Linked DNA regions of Homo sapiens: regions 2, 3 and 4 are each linked to region 1. The links are contacts of gene promoters, found by promoter capture Hi-C in blood cells and fetal thymus (Javierre and others, 2016). All regions are on one chromosome and are shown on one strand. The core of a region is centred on a gene start or on the middle of the fragment in contact, and the rest is flanking DNA. Distances in the headings are between cores, read along the strand shown.

Region 1 (2,828 bases), core at 116-2,615:
TTACAAAGAATATTAAGTGTCGGAGTGGTTATAATAAAGTAACTTTTACAACTTCATCAGGGATATTCTCTGGTGACAGCGTTCATTTTTCCATTTTTTTTTTTTTTTTTGAGACCGTGCCTTGCTCTGTCATCCAGGCTGGAATGCAGTGGCATGACCTCGGCTCACTGCAGCCTCGACCTCCCAGGCTCAAGGGATCCTCCCACCCCAGCCTCCCGAGTAGTTGGGATTCAGGTGCGTGCCGCCAGGCCTGGCTAATTTTTGTATTTTTGGTAGAGATGGGGTTTCGCCATGTTGGCCAGGCTGGTCTCGAACTCCTGACCTCCCAAAGTGCTAAGATTACAGGCGTGAACCACCGCGCCCGGCCCATTTTTCTTACTGTGAGCGTGTGGTGGTGAAGAGCTCCAGTACGGTTTGGTGTCATTACTGTAATTCCTGTGGAGGGGCCAGCACCTTGACCTACCATTGCTTTTCCACCATCAGTGCAAATGTCAGCATTGTGCAAAGGGCAAATCACGTCTTCATATTAGTATGAAAATAATTTTGGCTTTGAAAGGGTGTCATTGACCCTCAGGACAATCGTTGGTCGACATCAGTGGTTCTCAACGGGGCAGGGTGGGAGGGATAGTTTTTCTTCCAGGGGAAATTTCACTGGGGAAACCATTGGCTGTCACAATCGACTGGTGGTGACATCCCGTGGACAGAGACCAGAGATGCTGCTAAGCACCCTACAATGCACAGAACACCCCGTCCCCCAACAAAGCATTATCCAGTTTGAAATGTTAATGGTGCTGAGGCTGAGAAAGTATGACTTCCAAAAATGAGTCTTTTGGGCAGGAGAGTTGGAGAAATTAACAATCTTGATTACCTTTATTACATGTGCTCGTTTATTTTCAAGACATGATGCACAGCTACGTTCTGGCTGTAATTCTGCCTTCTGGGTCCAACTCACTTGTAACTTTAACGTGAAGCCTGCAGTTCAGCCTCGAGCCTCCCTGACTAGCCTCCCCGCCCGGCCGCCTCGAGCCCTTTATAACCGAATTTTGCCTCTCTGTTCTCTGCGTCTGGCCGACCTCATCAGCTAGGCTATAAACCCCTTCGGGGAAGGAGCATATCCTAATCCTTTGAATCCCGTAAAATAAGTTTTCCCCTCACCTTGTTCCCCACTGACGGGACGCGAGGCTGCGCGGTACCGCGGGGGCGGCTCCTCTCGGTGCGCTCTTCAGCCCGCGCAGCCTCATTTTCCCGCGCTCGTGCGCTGCGGTCACTCAGGGCTGCTGCTAGAGGGCGCGCCCAGCCGCGTGGCCCTGACTACTACAAATCCCAGAAGGTCATGCAGTGGGGGCGGCCGCGGTGACTTCTGGGATTTGTGGTCCCGGAGAAGAGATTGGCGGAGGGGAAAGACTGAGTCGTCTTTCCTTTGCCCGCTTCTGTGGACTGTTCGAACGCCCAGGGGTGGGCCAAACCCGTTTCTTAGGAAACCAGGAATCCAGGGAAGGCAGGTAGGAATTTGGGCGTGATAATTTCTGCTTCCAGTGGGAAAGAATGTAAACACGGGGCCTTGGGAGCCGTTATCGGGTAACTGGGGCTGCCCGGTCGGCGGTGGAAGCTGAGGAAGAGGAGGAAAAAGAGGCGAGTGGGTGTTGTGATTAGGGGAGAAAGGACCTTCGGAATAGGAGTTGAAACCCGACGGGATCCGGCAGAGCCTGGTCGCTAGGGTTGGTCTCCAGGGACAAGCGAGTCTGAGGGTCGGGCCCGCCGTGGCACCTTCGCGGAGCTGCGCGGCCGCAACCTTCCCTGAGCGGTGGGACGGGCGGGACGAGCCGGCCGCTCCCCGCTGGAGAGGTGTCTGCGGCCCGGGGCGGTCCGTGAACGCGCAGGTGACGTCCGGGGCAGCCTTTCTGAGCGTTTTTATTATTGTTGACCGATGAAGGGAAAGTCACTAATACTGGTTTTTCTCTTGCGGTGGCGTTTTTGGGTAAATCGTTTCTTGGATTCCTCACCTCTGAATACCTCCTTTTACCCAGAAGGATGCTGTTGTGATTTCCTGATCTTGTTCATGTAGTGGTTTTTCCCTTTGGGTGCTGCATCCTCAGACACACTCAAGACAAGCCCTCTCTGGCGGCTGGGTAAATGTGAAGCCGTCGCCAGTTGTTGAGCGCCTACTATAGGGATCTTTGTAACAGTACAGGAATTTAGAATACAGCGTCGTTGTTTAGAATCGTTATGCCATTCCTGAAATATAATCCTATATAAAAGGTTGAATTTGTCTGGTTTCATGAGTTTAACATGAAACCGGTGTGGATTGTGGTTTACTCTCATGGTTTCTTACTCTGGTAAAAAAATGTTAAGTCTAGGATGTTGAAGCCTCGTGCTTCTAACTAGACTCAGGAAAGCCTCCTTCATAAGAAGTTTTAATTTCATGTTCAGATAGTCATAGAGGAACAATAAACTCGTTCGGCTTAAGATATCTGAAACAACTGGGAATGTTAAATTTTCTAATGCAGAAAGTGCTTTGCATGCTCTAGGATTCACATACCTTTTTAAGCCTGGCTAAGTTTTCTTCAAAGCTTAAGTCCTCCAGAAAGCCTCAAGTGTCTCTTCTCTGATGTCATGGCATCCTTTGTTTACTCTCTTGTAGCACATATCGTGTATGAAATTGACTGTACTCTGTGGTTTCCAGACACTTTTGAAGAAAATATAAAACTTTGCTAATGGCCTTGATAACAGATTCATGCTTTTACACAGTAGTGGGCCCTTGATACTACTGTTTGGTATCTCTATTTTTCCTTTGTTGCTTTTCCTTATCTCCACAGTGACTATTTTAG
Region 2 (2,700 bases), core at 146-2,645, 800 kb after region 1:
TATCTCATTGTGGTTTTGAGTTGCATTTCTCTAATGATCAGTAACGTTCAGCTTTGTTCCATATGTTTGTTGGCTGCATAAATGTCTTCTTTTGAAAAGTGTTCGTTCATGTCTTTTGGCTACTTTTTAATGGTGTTGTTTTTTTTCTTGTAAATTTTTTAAGTTCCTTGTAGATTGTCAGATAAACACATTGCAGAAATTTTTCCCCCATTGCATAGGTTGTCTGTTCACTCTGATGATCATTTCCTTTGCTGGCAGAAGCTTTTTAGTTTAATTAGATCCCATTTGTCAATTTTTGCTTTTGTTGCAATTGCTTTTGCCATTTTCATCAAGAAGTCTTTGCCCATGCCTATGTCCTGAATGGTATTGCCTAGACTTTCTTCTAGGGTTTTTATAGTTTGAGGTTTTACATTTAAGTCTTTAATCTATCTTGAGTTAATTTTTGTATAAGGAGTAAGGAAGGGTTCCAGTTTCAATTTTCTGCATATGGCTAGCAAGTTCTTCCAGCACCGTTTATTAAATAGGGAATCTTTTACCCATTGCTTGTTTTTGTCAAGTTTGTCAAAGATCAGATGGTTGTAGACATGTGGTCTTATTTCTGAGCTCTCTTCTCTGTTTTATTGGTCTATGTGTCTGTTTTTGTACCACTACCATGCTGTTTTGGTTACTGTAAACTTGTAGTATAGTGTGAAGTTGAGTAGCATGATGCCTCCAGCTTTGTTCTTTTTGCTTAAAATTGGCTTGGCTATACGGGCTCCATTTTTGGTTCCATATGAATTTTAAAGTAATTTTGTGAAGAATATTAATGGTAGTTTAATAGAAATAGCATTGAATCTATAAATTACTTTGGGCAGTATGGCCATTTTCATGATATTAATTCTTCCTATCCATGAGCATGGAACGTTTTCCATTTGTTTCTGTCCTCTTTGATTTCCTTGAGCAGTGGTTTGTAGTTCTCCTTGAAGAGGTCCTTCACTTCCCTTGTTACCGATATTCCTTGGTATTTTACTCTCTTTGTAGCAATTGTGAATGAGGGTTCATTCATAATTTAGTTCTCTGTTTGTCTATTGTTGGTCTATAGGAATGCTTCTGACTTTTGTGCATTGATTTTGTATCCTGAGACTTTGCTGAAGTTGCTTATCAGTTTAAGAAGCTTTTGGGCTGAGACGATGTGGTTTTCTAGATATAGGATCATGTGTCATCTGGAAACAGAGACAGTTTGACTTCTTCTCTTCCTAATTGAATATCCTTTATTTCTTTCTCTTACCTGATTGCCCTAGCCAGAAGTACCAATACTATGTTGAATAGAACGGTGAGAGTGGGCATACTTGTCTTGTGCCAGTTTTCAAGGGAATGCTTCCAGCATTTGCCCATTCAATATCATATTGGCTGTGGGTCTGTCATAACTGGCTCTTATTATTTTGAGGTATGTTCCATCAATACCTAGTTTATTGAGAGTTTTTAACATGAAGCAATGTTGAATTATATCGAAGGCCTTTTCTGCATCTACTGAGACAATCATGTGGTTTTTGTCCTTAGTTCTGTTGATGTAATGAATTATGTTATTAATTTGTGTATGCTGAACCAACCTTGCATCCTGGGGATGAAGCGAACTTGATTGTGGTGGACAAGCTTTTTGATATGCTGCTGGATTCAGTTTGCCAGTATTTTTTTTTTTTGAGAATTTTTGCATTGATGTTCATCAAGGATATTGGCCTAAAATTTCCTTTTTTTCTTGTATCTCTGCCAGGTTTTGGTATCAGGATGTTGCTGGCCTCATAAAATGAGTTAGAGAGGAGTCTTTCCTTTACAATTATTTGGAATAGTTTCAAAAGAAATGATACCAGCTCTTCTTTGTACCTCTGGTAGAATTCAGCTGCAAATCCATCTGGCCCTGGACTTTATTTGGTTGGTAGGTTATTTATTACTGCCTCATCTTCAGAACTTCTTACTGGTCTTTTCAGGGATTCAACTTCTTCCTGGTTCAGTCTTGGGAGGATATATACATCAGGGAATTTATCCATTTATGCTAGACTTTCTAGTTTATTTTTATAGAGGTGTTTACAATATTCTCTAATGATCACTTGTGTTTCTGTGAGGTCAGTGGTAATATCCCCTTTATCATTTTTATTGTATCTATTTGATTATTCTGTTTTCTTTTTTATTGTGTAGGTAGCAGTCTATCTATTTTAGTAAATTTTTTTTTCAAAAAACCAGCTCCTGGATTCCTTGATTTTTTGAAGGGTCTTTCATGTCTCTATCTCCTTCAGTTTCACTCTGACCTTACTTAATTCTCGTCTTCTGCTAGCTTTAGGGTTTGTTTGCTCTTGGTTCTCTAGTTCTTTTAGTTGTGATGTTAGGGTGTCAATTTGAGACCTTTATAGCTTTTCAATATGAACATTGAGTGCTGTAAATTTCCCTCTTAAGGCTGCTTTAGTTCCATCCAAGACATTCTGGTACATTGTATCTTTGTTCTCATTGGTTTCAAAGAACTTCTTGATTTCTGCCTTAATTTCATTATTTACCCAGGAGTCATTCAGCTGCAAGTTGTTCAATTTCCATGTAGTTGTGTGGATTTGAGTGAGTTTCTTAATCTTGAGTTCAAATTTGATTGCACTGTGCTCCGAGAGACTGTTTCTTTTGCATTTGCTGAGGAGTGATTTACCTTGAGTTATGTGATCAATTTTAGAGTAAGTGTCA
Region 3 (2,700 bases), core at 191-2,690, 820 kb after region 1:
CTTTCACTTGATATGGCCAGTCTACTTAATTAAAGCCATTCTAATAGATGTGTAATCATATCTCATTGTGGTTTTAATTTTCATTTCCTTAATGACTAATGATGTTGCACATCTTATCACATGAATATTTGCCATCTATATTTCTTCTTCTTGAATTATCTGTTTAACTATGTCACCCATTTTATTTATTGGATCATTTGTTTTTTTCTTATTGAGGGTTGAACATTCTTTATATATGCAGTATAAAAGTTTTTGTCAGATATATAATTTGCAAATATTTTCTTCAAGTCTATGAATTGTCTTTTTATTTTATAAGCAATGTCTTAAACAACAGATGTTTTTAATTTTGATGAAATTCAATTTATCATTTTAAAAAGTTTTATGGATCATGGTGTTAGCATTGTAGCTAAGAAATTTTTGCCTAATTTGTTTTTGGTAATGTAAAATGGTACAATCAGTTTAGAAAATCAACTGACAAAATGTTGGAAGTATATTTTCTTCCCATCCCATTCCAACATATTTGGTCACTTTTTTATAATGTAAAAAAAAAAAATAAAATGTAAAAATAGTATTTGGTCATTATAAAAAAGTGACCAAATATTTATATAATGAATGAAAAATAAAGTGACCATATATTTTTATAATGACCAAATATTTGTTATATTTGGTGGTCACTATTTTATAAAGTAAAAAATATCATCCAACTGGATGATAATGTCAAAATATTTATGACGCATGCATGAAAGAAGCCAGACCAAAAAAAAGAGCGCTTATTGTATGATCTCATATATATAAAAATTCCATATAATGGAAACTAATCTTAATAGCAGAAAGACCAAGGGTTTCTTGGGGACAGGGGCTTGGGCACAAAATGAACAGGGACATGTATTCCAAAGGGGCATAACAAGTATTTTGGAAGAAAATAAATGTTTATTTTGATTGTGATGATGCTTTCATGGATGTATTCATAGGTCAAAAGTTTTATAAGTCCAGTTTGTTGTTTCTCACTTAAACCTCAGTAAAGCTGTTAAATAGTATTTCTACACTCCAATATCACAAATATACCAACTGAATTAAAAGAAATACTGCTTGTTTTTGTGATACGATCAAGTCATTCACTCACAAAACATTGCTGGTTTCATGGAGTTGTCCAGTAGTATTCCACTCAAGCTGAGTGAAATTATCAACTGAGAATTGATAATGAAGTTCTTGAGAAAGTGGTGACTAATTGTGAAATATGCACCCTTCTGCCTTAAACTCTCACATGCTAAGATATGAGTTGCTGCCTCCAACAGAAAATGTTTTTCCCTAGTTTCTACAAGCACTTCCAGGAAACAATTTTAAAGACACTTTTTTTTTCTTTTTCTTTGTAAAAATCTGTTTTTTATGCATTTGAAAAATCATTTTTTTCTTACTATGTTTTGTTTTTGAATAAAATATTTTCCCCAGAAGTGTCTTACCAAAATTATGTATTGGAAACACTAAAAAATGCCTTCACATCTACAATCTAAAACATATTTTATCATTTCACAACTCTTTTGGCTCCTTTGGTTTCTTGAATATAGTTTTTGTAAAAGGAACACAATTTACTTCATTTTTAACATTTAACATCGAAAACCATTTTTAAAAGATTTATAATTGTTTTTTCTTTTTGATCTGGTTGTATAATTAGAATAATTAACCTGACAAAATGTAGCTTTGCACTGTGGATTTAAATTCATTTTGTATTTAAGTGATGAAAAAATATGTTATTTCCCAGATTAAAACTATTTTTTAAGATAAACAATTCTCCAGCTAGTCCCAAAGAACTGAAATGAGGAGGCATAAAACTGAGGAAATTAGCTCCTCGAATTTCCCCTCTCATCTCCACCCTTACATCAAGTTTCAACTCCAAGGGGGAAGATTTATAGAACAGATGTGGGGTTTTTCCTCCCTAGAGTTTCAGTCCCTCAAAGAAATCTAGGGTTTCATTAGAGCTATATTCCATAGAGCAGGGGAGTAATGTGGTGAAGGTAGGATGACTATGCCTTCATTTGTTTAGGACACTTTTGTTTTTCTGTGTTTTTTTTTGGCGTATTTATCAATAGCTGTCCCATTTGCTCTTAAAATTATCCTGGTTTGAATGATGTGTAATCCCAGATCTCCTTCACTGAGCTCATGTATCCATCCCATAATAGTTGCTAGCATTGGTTGCTGAAAACCCACAGCTGATCCTTCTCAGGTGAGTTGATCTCAGCTCACATCCAACATTATATAGGAGGTTAGAGTTCCTCTCCCTACTCTCCACCCACAAGCAGCTACAGATAGAGAACTGACTAATGGAGAGAAGGGATCCAAAAAGCTGGCTCCTTTACTCATGGTGGAACCACCTTTATGATGCTATTTGTGCTCCAAAGCTCCCCATGGATTCAGGCTAAAGCTAGTTTCTAGCTGAGATCACTTTCCTGCTTGGGTTTTTATTTTTGTTTTTCTTTTTTGTTTTTTCTGTTCCTTTACCTTATTCTGCTTCGCTCACTACCCTTTTTTCTGATAATTCTTTTTTTCTCTGAGAATTCTTGATCAATACATTTTTAACACAGGAATCTCAGGCTGTGTTCCTAGAAAATCTGACCAAGATAGTACTGGAATCGGTCCCAGGAAGCAGTCTTTAAAGATGTGACTTGAGTTGGATACCTCACTTGAAGAGGGGCAAGGAGAGCC
Region 4 (2,864 bases), core at 200-2,699, 750 kb after region 1:
AACAATTGCAAGAATTAATTCATGTACTTGAACTGGCCAATGACAAGCAACCAATTACCATTTTTGTCTCCTGTGGCAATCTTTTCACATCTGAGTGAAAATTAGGAATTGCAACTGAGCAATTAACTTCTCTATTATAAAAAGAGAAAACTGCATTGATATTTTAGGTTTCAGTGTCATTATGAAATGTATCACAGAATGAGGTCAAAGTATTAATGTCCATTTGATAAATTCCCTTTCCATTTTTTACTATATAATTTGCAATATTTGTAATAAAAATAGTACTTTCTATCATTTCCCATTCCTTCACCCCCTCATGCAAAGTAATATTTTTTAGACTTCCTAAAGCCTTTCTACATTGAGGCGTGTCAAACTGTAATTCTTACAAGTGTGAATAAAATGTGACAAGTAAGAGGATTACCTGGGAGTTTTATATTTGATATTTTAGTCATCAACTTTTATGTTAAAATGGCATATTTCTAAAAACTATAAATGCATGAAACCTGCAAATATTTATGTTTTATATCTCAAAGTTGGAGCTCATTGTAGTAGTGAAATAAACACTGAATAAAGAGTCAGAAGACTTGGATCCATGTCCTGGTTTCCCCAGTTCCCAATCAATATGATCTTAAGTATATTTTCTTTAAGCTTCATTTTCTGCATCTATTCAATGAAAATTCAATAACTGTCTTACTACCCTCAGCAGTTATTGTGAGAATCAAAGAAGATAATGGATATAAAAAATATTCTGTAATTAGTGAAGTATTCTATAGATTTGGGTTGTTATTATCTATTCCAAATTTTCTCTTTATAGATGAGGAAACAAAAGCCCTTATTTTTTAGTCACCCAAGAAAGAAAACTTGAGAAAATATGGCAGAATAGAAAATTTCTATCATCATCTTCACCGAGAAACATCAATTTTGACGACTACCCATGGATAAAAGTACCATTGTGGGAGTTCAGGGTTTTAGCAGAAATTTTCCAGCAGAGTGTTGGAGCAAAAATTTAACAACAGACACACTAAACAGAGTAACAACAGTTTTACTTTACTCACATCACCATTCTCCCAAGGTGGCACAACTCAGCACCAAGAGAAACTCATTCAGCTCCCCTAGCCATGTGGGACATTGCCCAAGAGGCCGACTTTTTTTTGCATGTCACCCAGAATATTTAGGTGATTGGCACAGCTACGTGGTTGGAAGAGGCTGAAAGCAAGGATGATGGGTCATAGACCCTCCTAACTGTCTATGGAACCCATTAGAAAGCTCACTCATAAGCTGCTTGAGATGTCTCATCTATGGATTCCCAAAAACTGGACCAGAAGCATTTCAAGTGCACTATGCACCTCAGCCTTTCTCCCCAGGCTAGCTCCCTGAGTGTACTGCTGTAGACAACAAATACAAGTATCTCACACAAGCAGACAACTCAGCTGTGAGGGATTGGGAGAAAGCACACAAACTTGAGCATTTCTGAGAACTTCTCTAAATAGAACAACTGGTTAAGGCTATCACCACACAGCTTGGCTTCAAATAATTGAGAAAAGGCATACAATTTTTAGAATGCCCCCCAGGAGAAAACAAAAGGTGTGGAATGAGCACATATATAGAAAAGGTCTGAAGAGCCTCAGAATCCCTAGCTAGGAAAACTGATGAAGGAATTTTTCTTCCAAAGCCACTTAATAAACACCGGAGAAGGTGACTGCATCTTCAAATATTCAAACACTTACACAAAGATACAAAAAAATGAAAAAACAAAAACCAAAGAACCATGATACCACCAAAGGAACACAACAATGTTACAGTACCAACCCCAGAGAAAAGAAGATCTACAAATTGCCTGGCAAGGGATTCAAAATAATTTTATTAAGGAAGCTCAACAATCTACCAGGGAACAAATAGACAATTCAAAAATATTAGACAAAACATGATCAGTAAGAGAATTTCAATAAAGGGATAGAAATAATTGAAAAAGAACCAAATGGAAATTCAGGAGCTGAAGAAAACAATGAAATTAAATAAAAATGCATTAGAGAGTATCAGTAGCACAACTAATCAACAGCAGAAAAAAAATCTGTGAACTTAAAAAATGGGTAATTTGAAAATATCTAGTCAGAGAATAAAAAAGAACAGAAAACCCAAAAAGTAATGAAGAAAGCCTATGGAATTTATGGGACAGCATCAAGAGAGGTAACTTTTGAATTATGGAATTTTACCAAGGAGGAGAAAGAAAGAGAGGTCCAGAAAGCTTACTGAAAGTAATAATAGCTGAAATCTTTCTAAATCTTGAGAGCTATATTGACATTCATGTACATAGAGCTTAAACATTTTCAAATCGTTTCAACCCAAAAAAGACTTCACTGAGCCACATTATAATCAAACTGTTAAACATCAAAGGCAAAGAAGTTTGAAAGCAGCAAAAGCAAAGAGGGTGATCATATACAAGTGAACTCCCGTAAGGATATCAGTAATTTCTCAGCAGAGACCTTGTAGACCAGACAAGAGTGGGATAATATAATTAAAATGCTGAAAGAGAAAACAACTGGCAGCCAAGAATACTTCATCCAGTAAAACTATCCTTCATAAATAAAGGCACAATAAAGACTTTTCCAAACAAACAAAAGCTGAGAGAGTTCATTACCACTATAGCTAACTTACAAGAAATACCAAAAGGAATTCTTCAAGCTGACATAAAAGGATACTAATTAGTAACATAAAATTATATGAAGGCATAAAATTCACTGGTAAGGTAAGTACACAGTCAAATTCAGAATATTCCTACTATAATGGCGGTGTGTAAGTCACTTATAATTCTAGTATAGAGGTAAAGGACAAAGTGTATAGTATAGAGGTAAAGGACAAATTTG

The links. The method cuts DNA at HindIII sites, captures the fragments that hold promoters and counts their contacts. A CHiCAGO score of 5 or more calls a contact.
Region 2: a contact is called between a fragment that was not itself captured here and the fragment with the promoter of TTC33 in region 1, in 2 of 17 cell types (fetal thymus and total CD4 T cells). The highest score is 5.4, in fetal thymus.
Region 3: a fragment that was not itself captured here is called in contact with the fragment with the promoter of TTC33 in region 1 in 7 of 17 cell types (activated CD4 T cells, total CD4 T cells, naive B cells and 4 more); the score reaches 9.5 in activated CD4 T cells.
Region 4: a contact is called between a fragment that was not itself captured here and the fragment with the promoter of TTC33 in region 1, in 2 of 17 cell types (total B cells and naive B cells). The highest score is 7.7, in total B cells.

The regions. Positions count from the first base shown.
Region 1 is chr5:40,754,498-40,757,325 of GRCh38, reverse strand. It overlaps TTC33 (tetratricopeptide repeat domain 33), which reads left to right and starts at 1,365. Exons shown (of 5, transcript NM_012382.3): 1 at 1,365-1,502. RefSeq lists an enhancer at 1,342-1,491. The HindIII fragment of the contact is 9,414 bases long and covers 1-2,572 here.
Region 2 is chr5:39,952,735-39,955,434 of GRCh38, reverse strand. No RefSeq gene overlaps it. Among named protein-coding and RNA genes, the nearest start is that of LINC00603, 98 kb to the left of the region's middle. The HindIII fragment of the contact is 479 bases long and covers 1,156-1,634 here.
Region 3 is chr5:39,931,789-39,934,488 of GRCh38, reverse strand. No RefSeq gene overlaps it. Among named protein-coding and RNA genes, the nearest start is that of LINC00603, 120 kb to the left of the region's middle. The HindIII fragment of the contact is 3,174 bases long and covers 1-2,700 here.
Region 4 is chr5:40,007,306-40,010,169 of GRCh38, reverse strand. No RefSeq gene overlaps it. Among named protein-coding and RNA genes, the nearest start is that of LINC00603, 44 kb to the left of the region's middle. The HindIII fragment of the contact is 1,597 bases long and covers 651-2,247 here.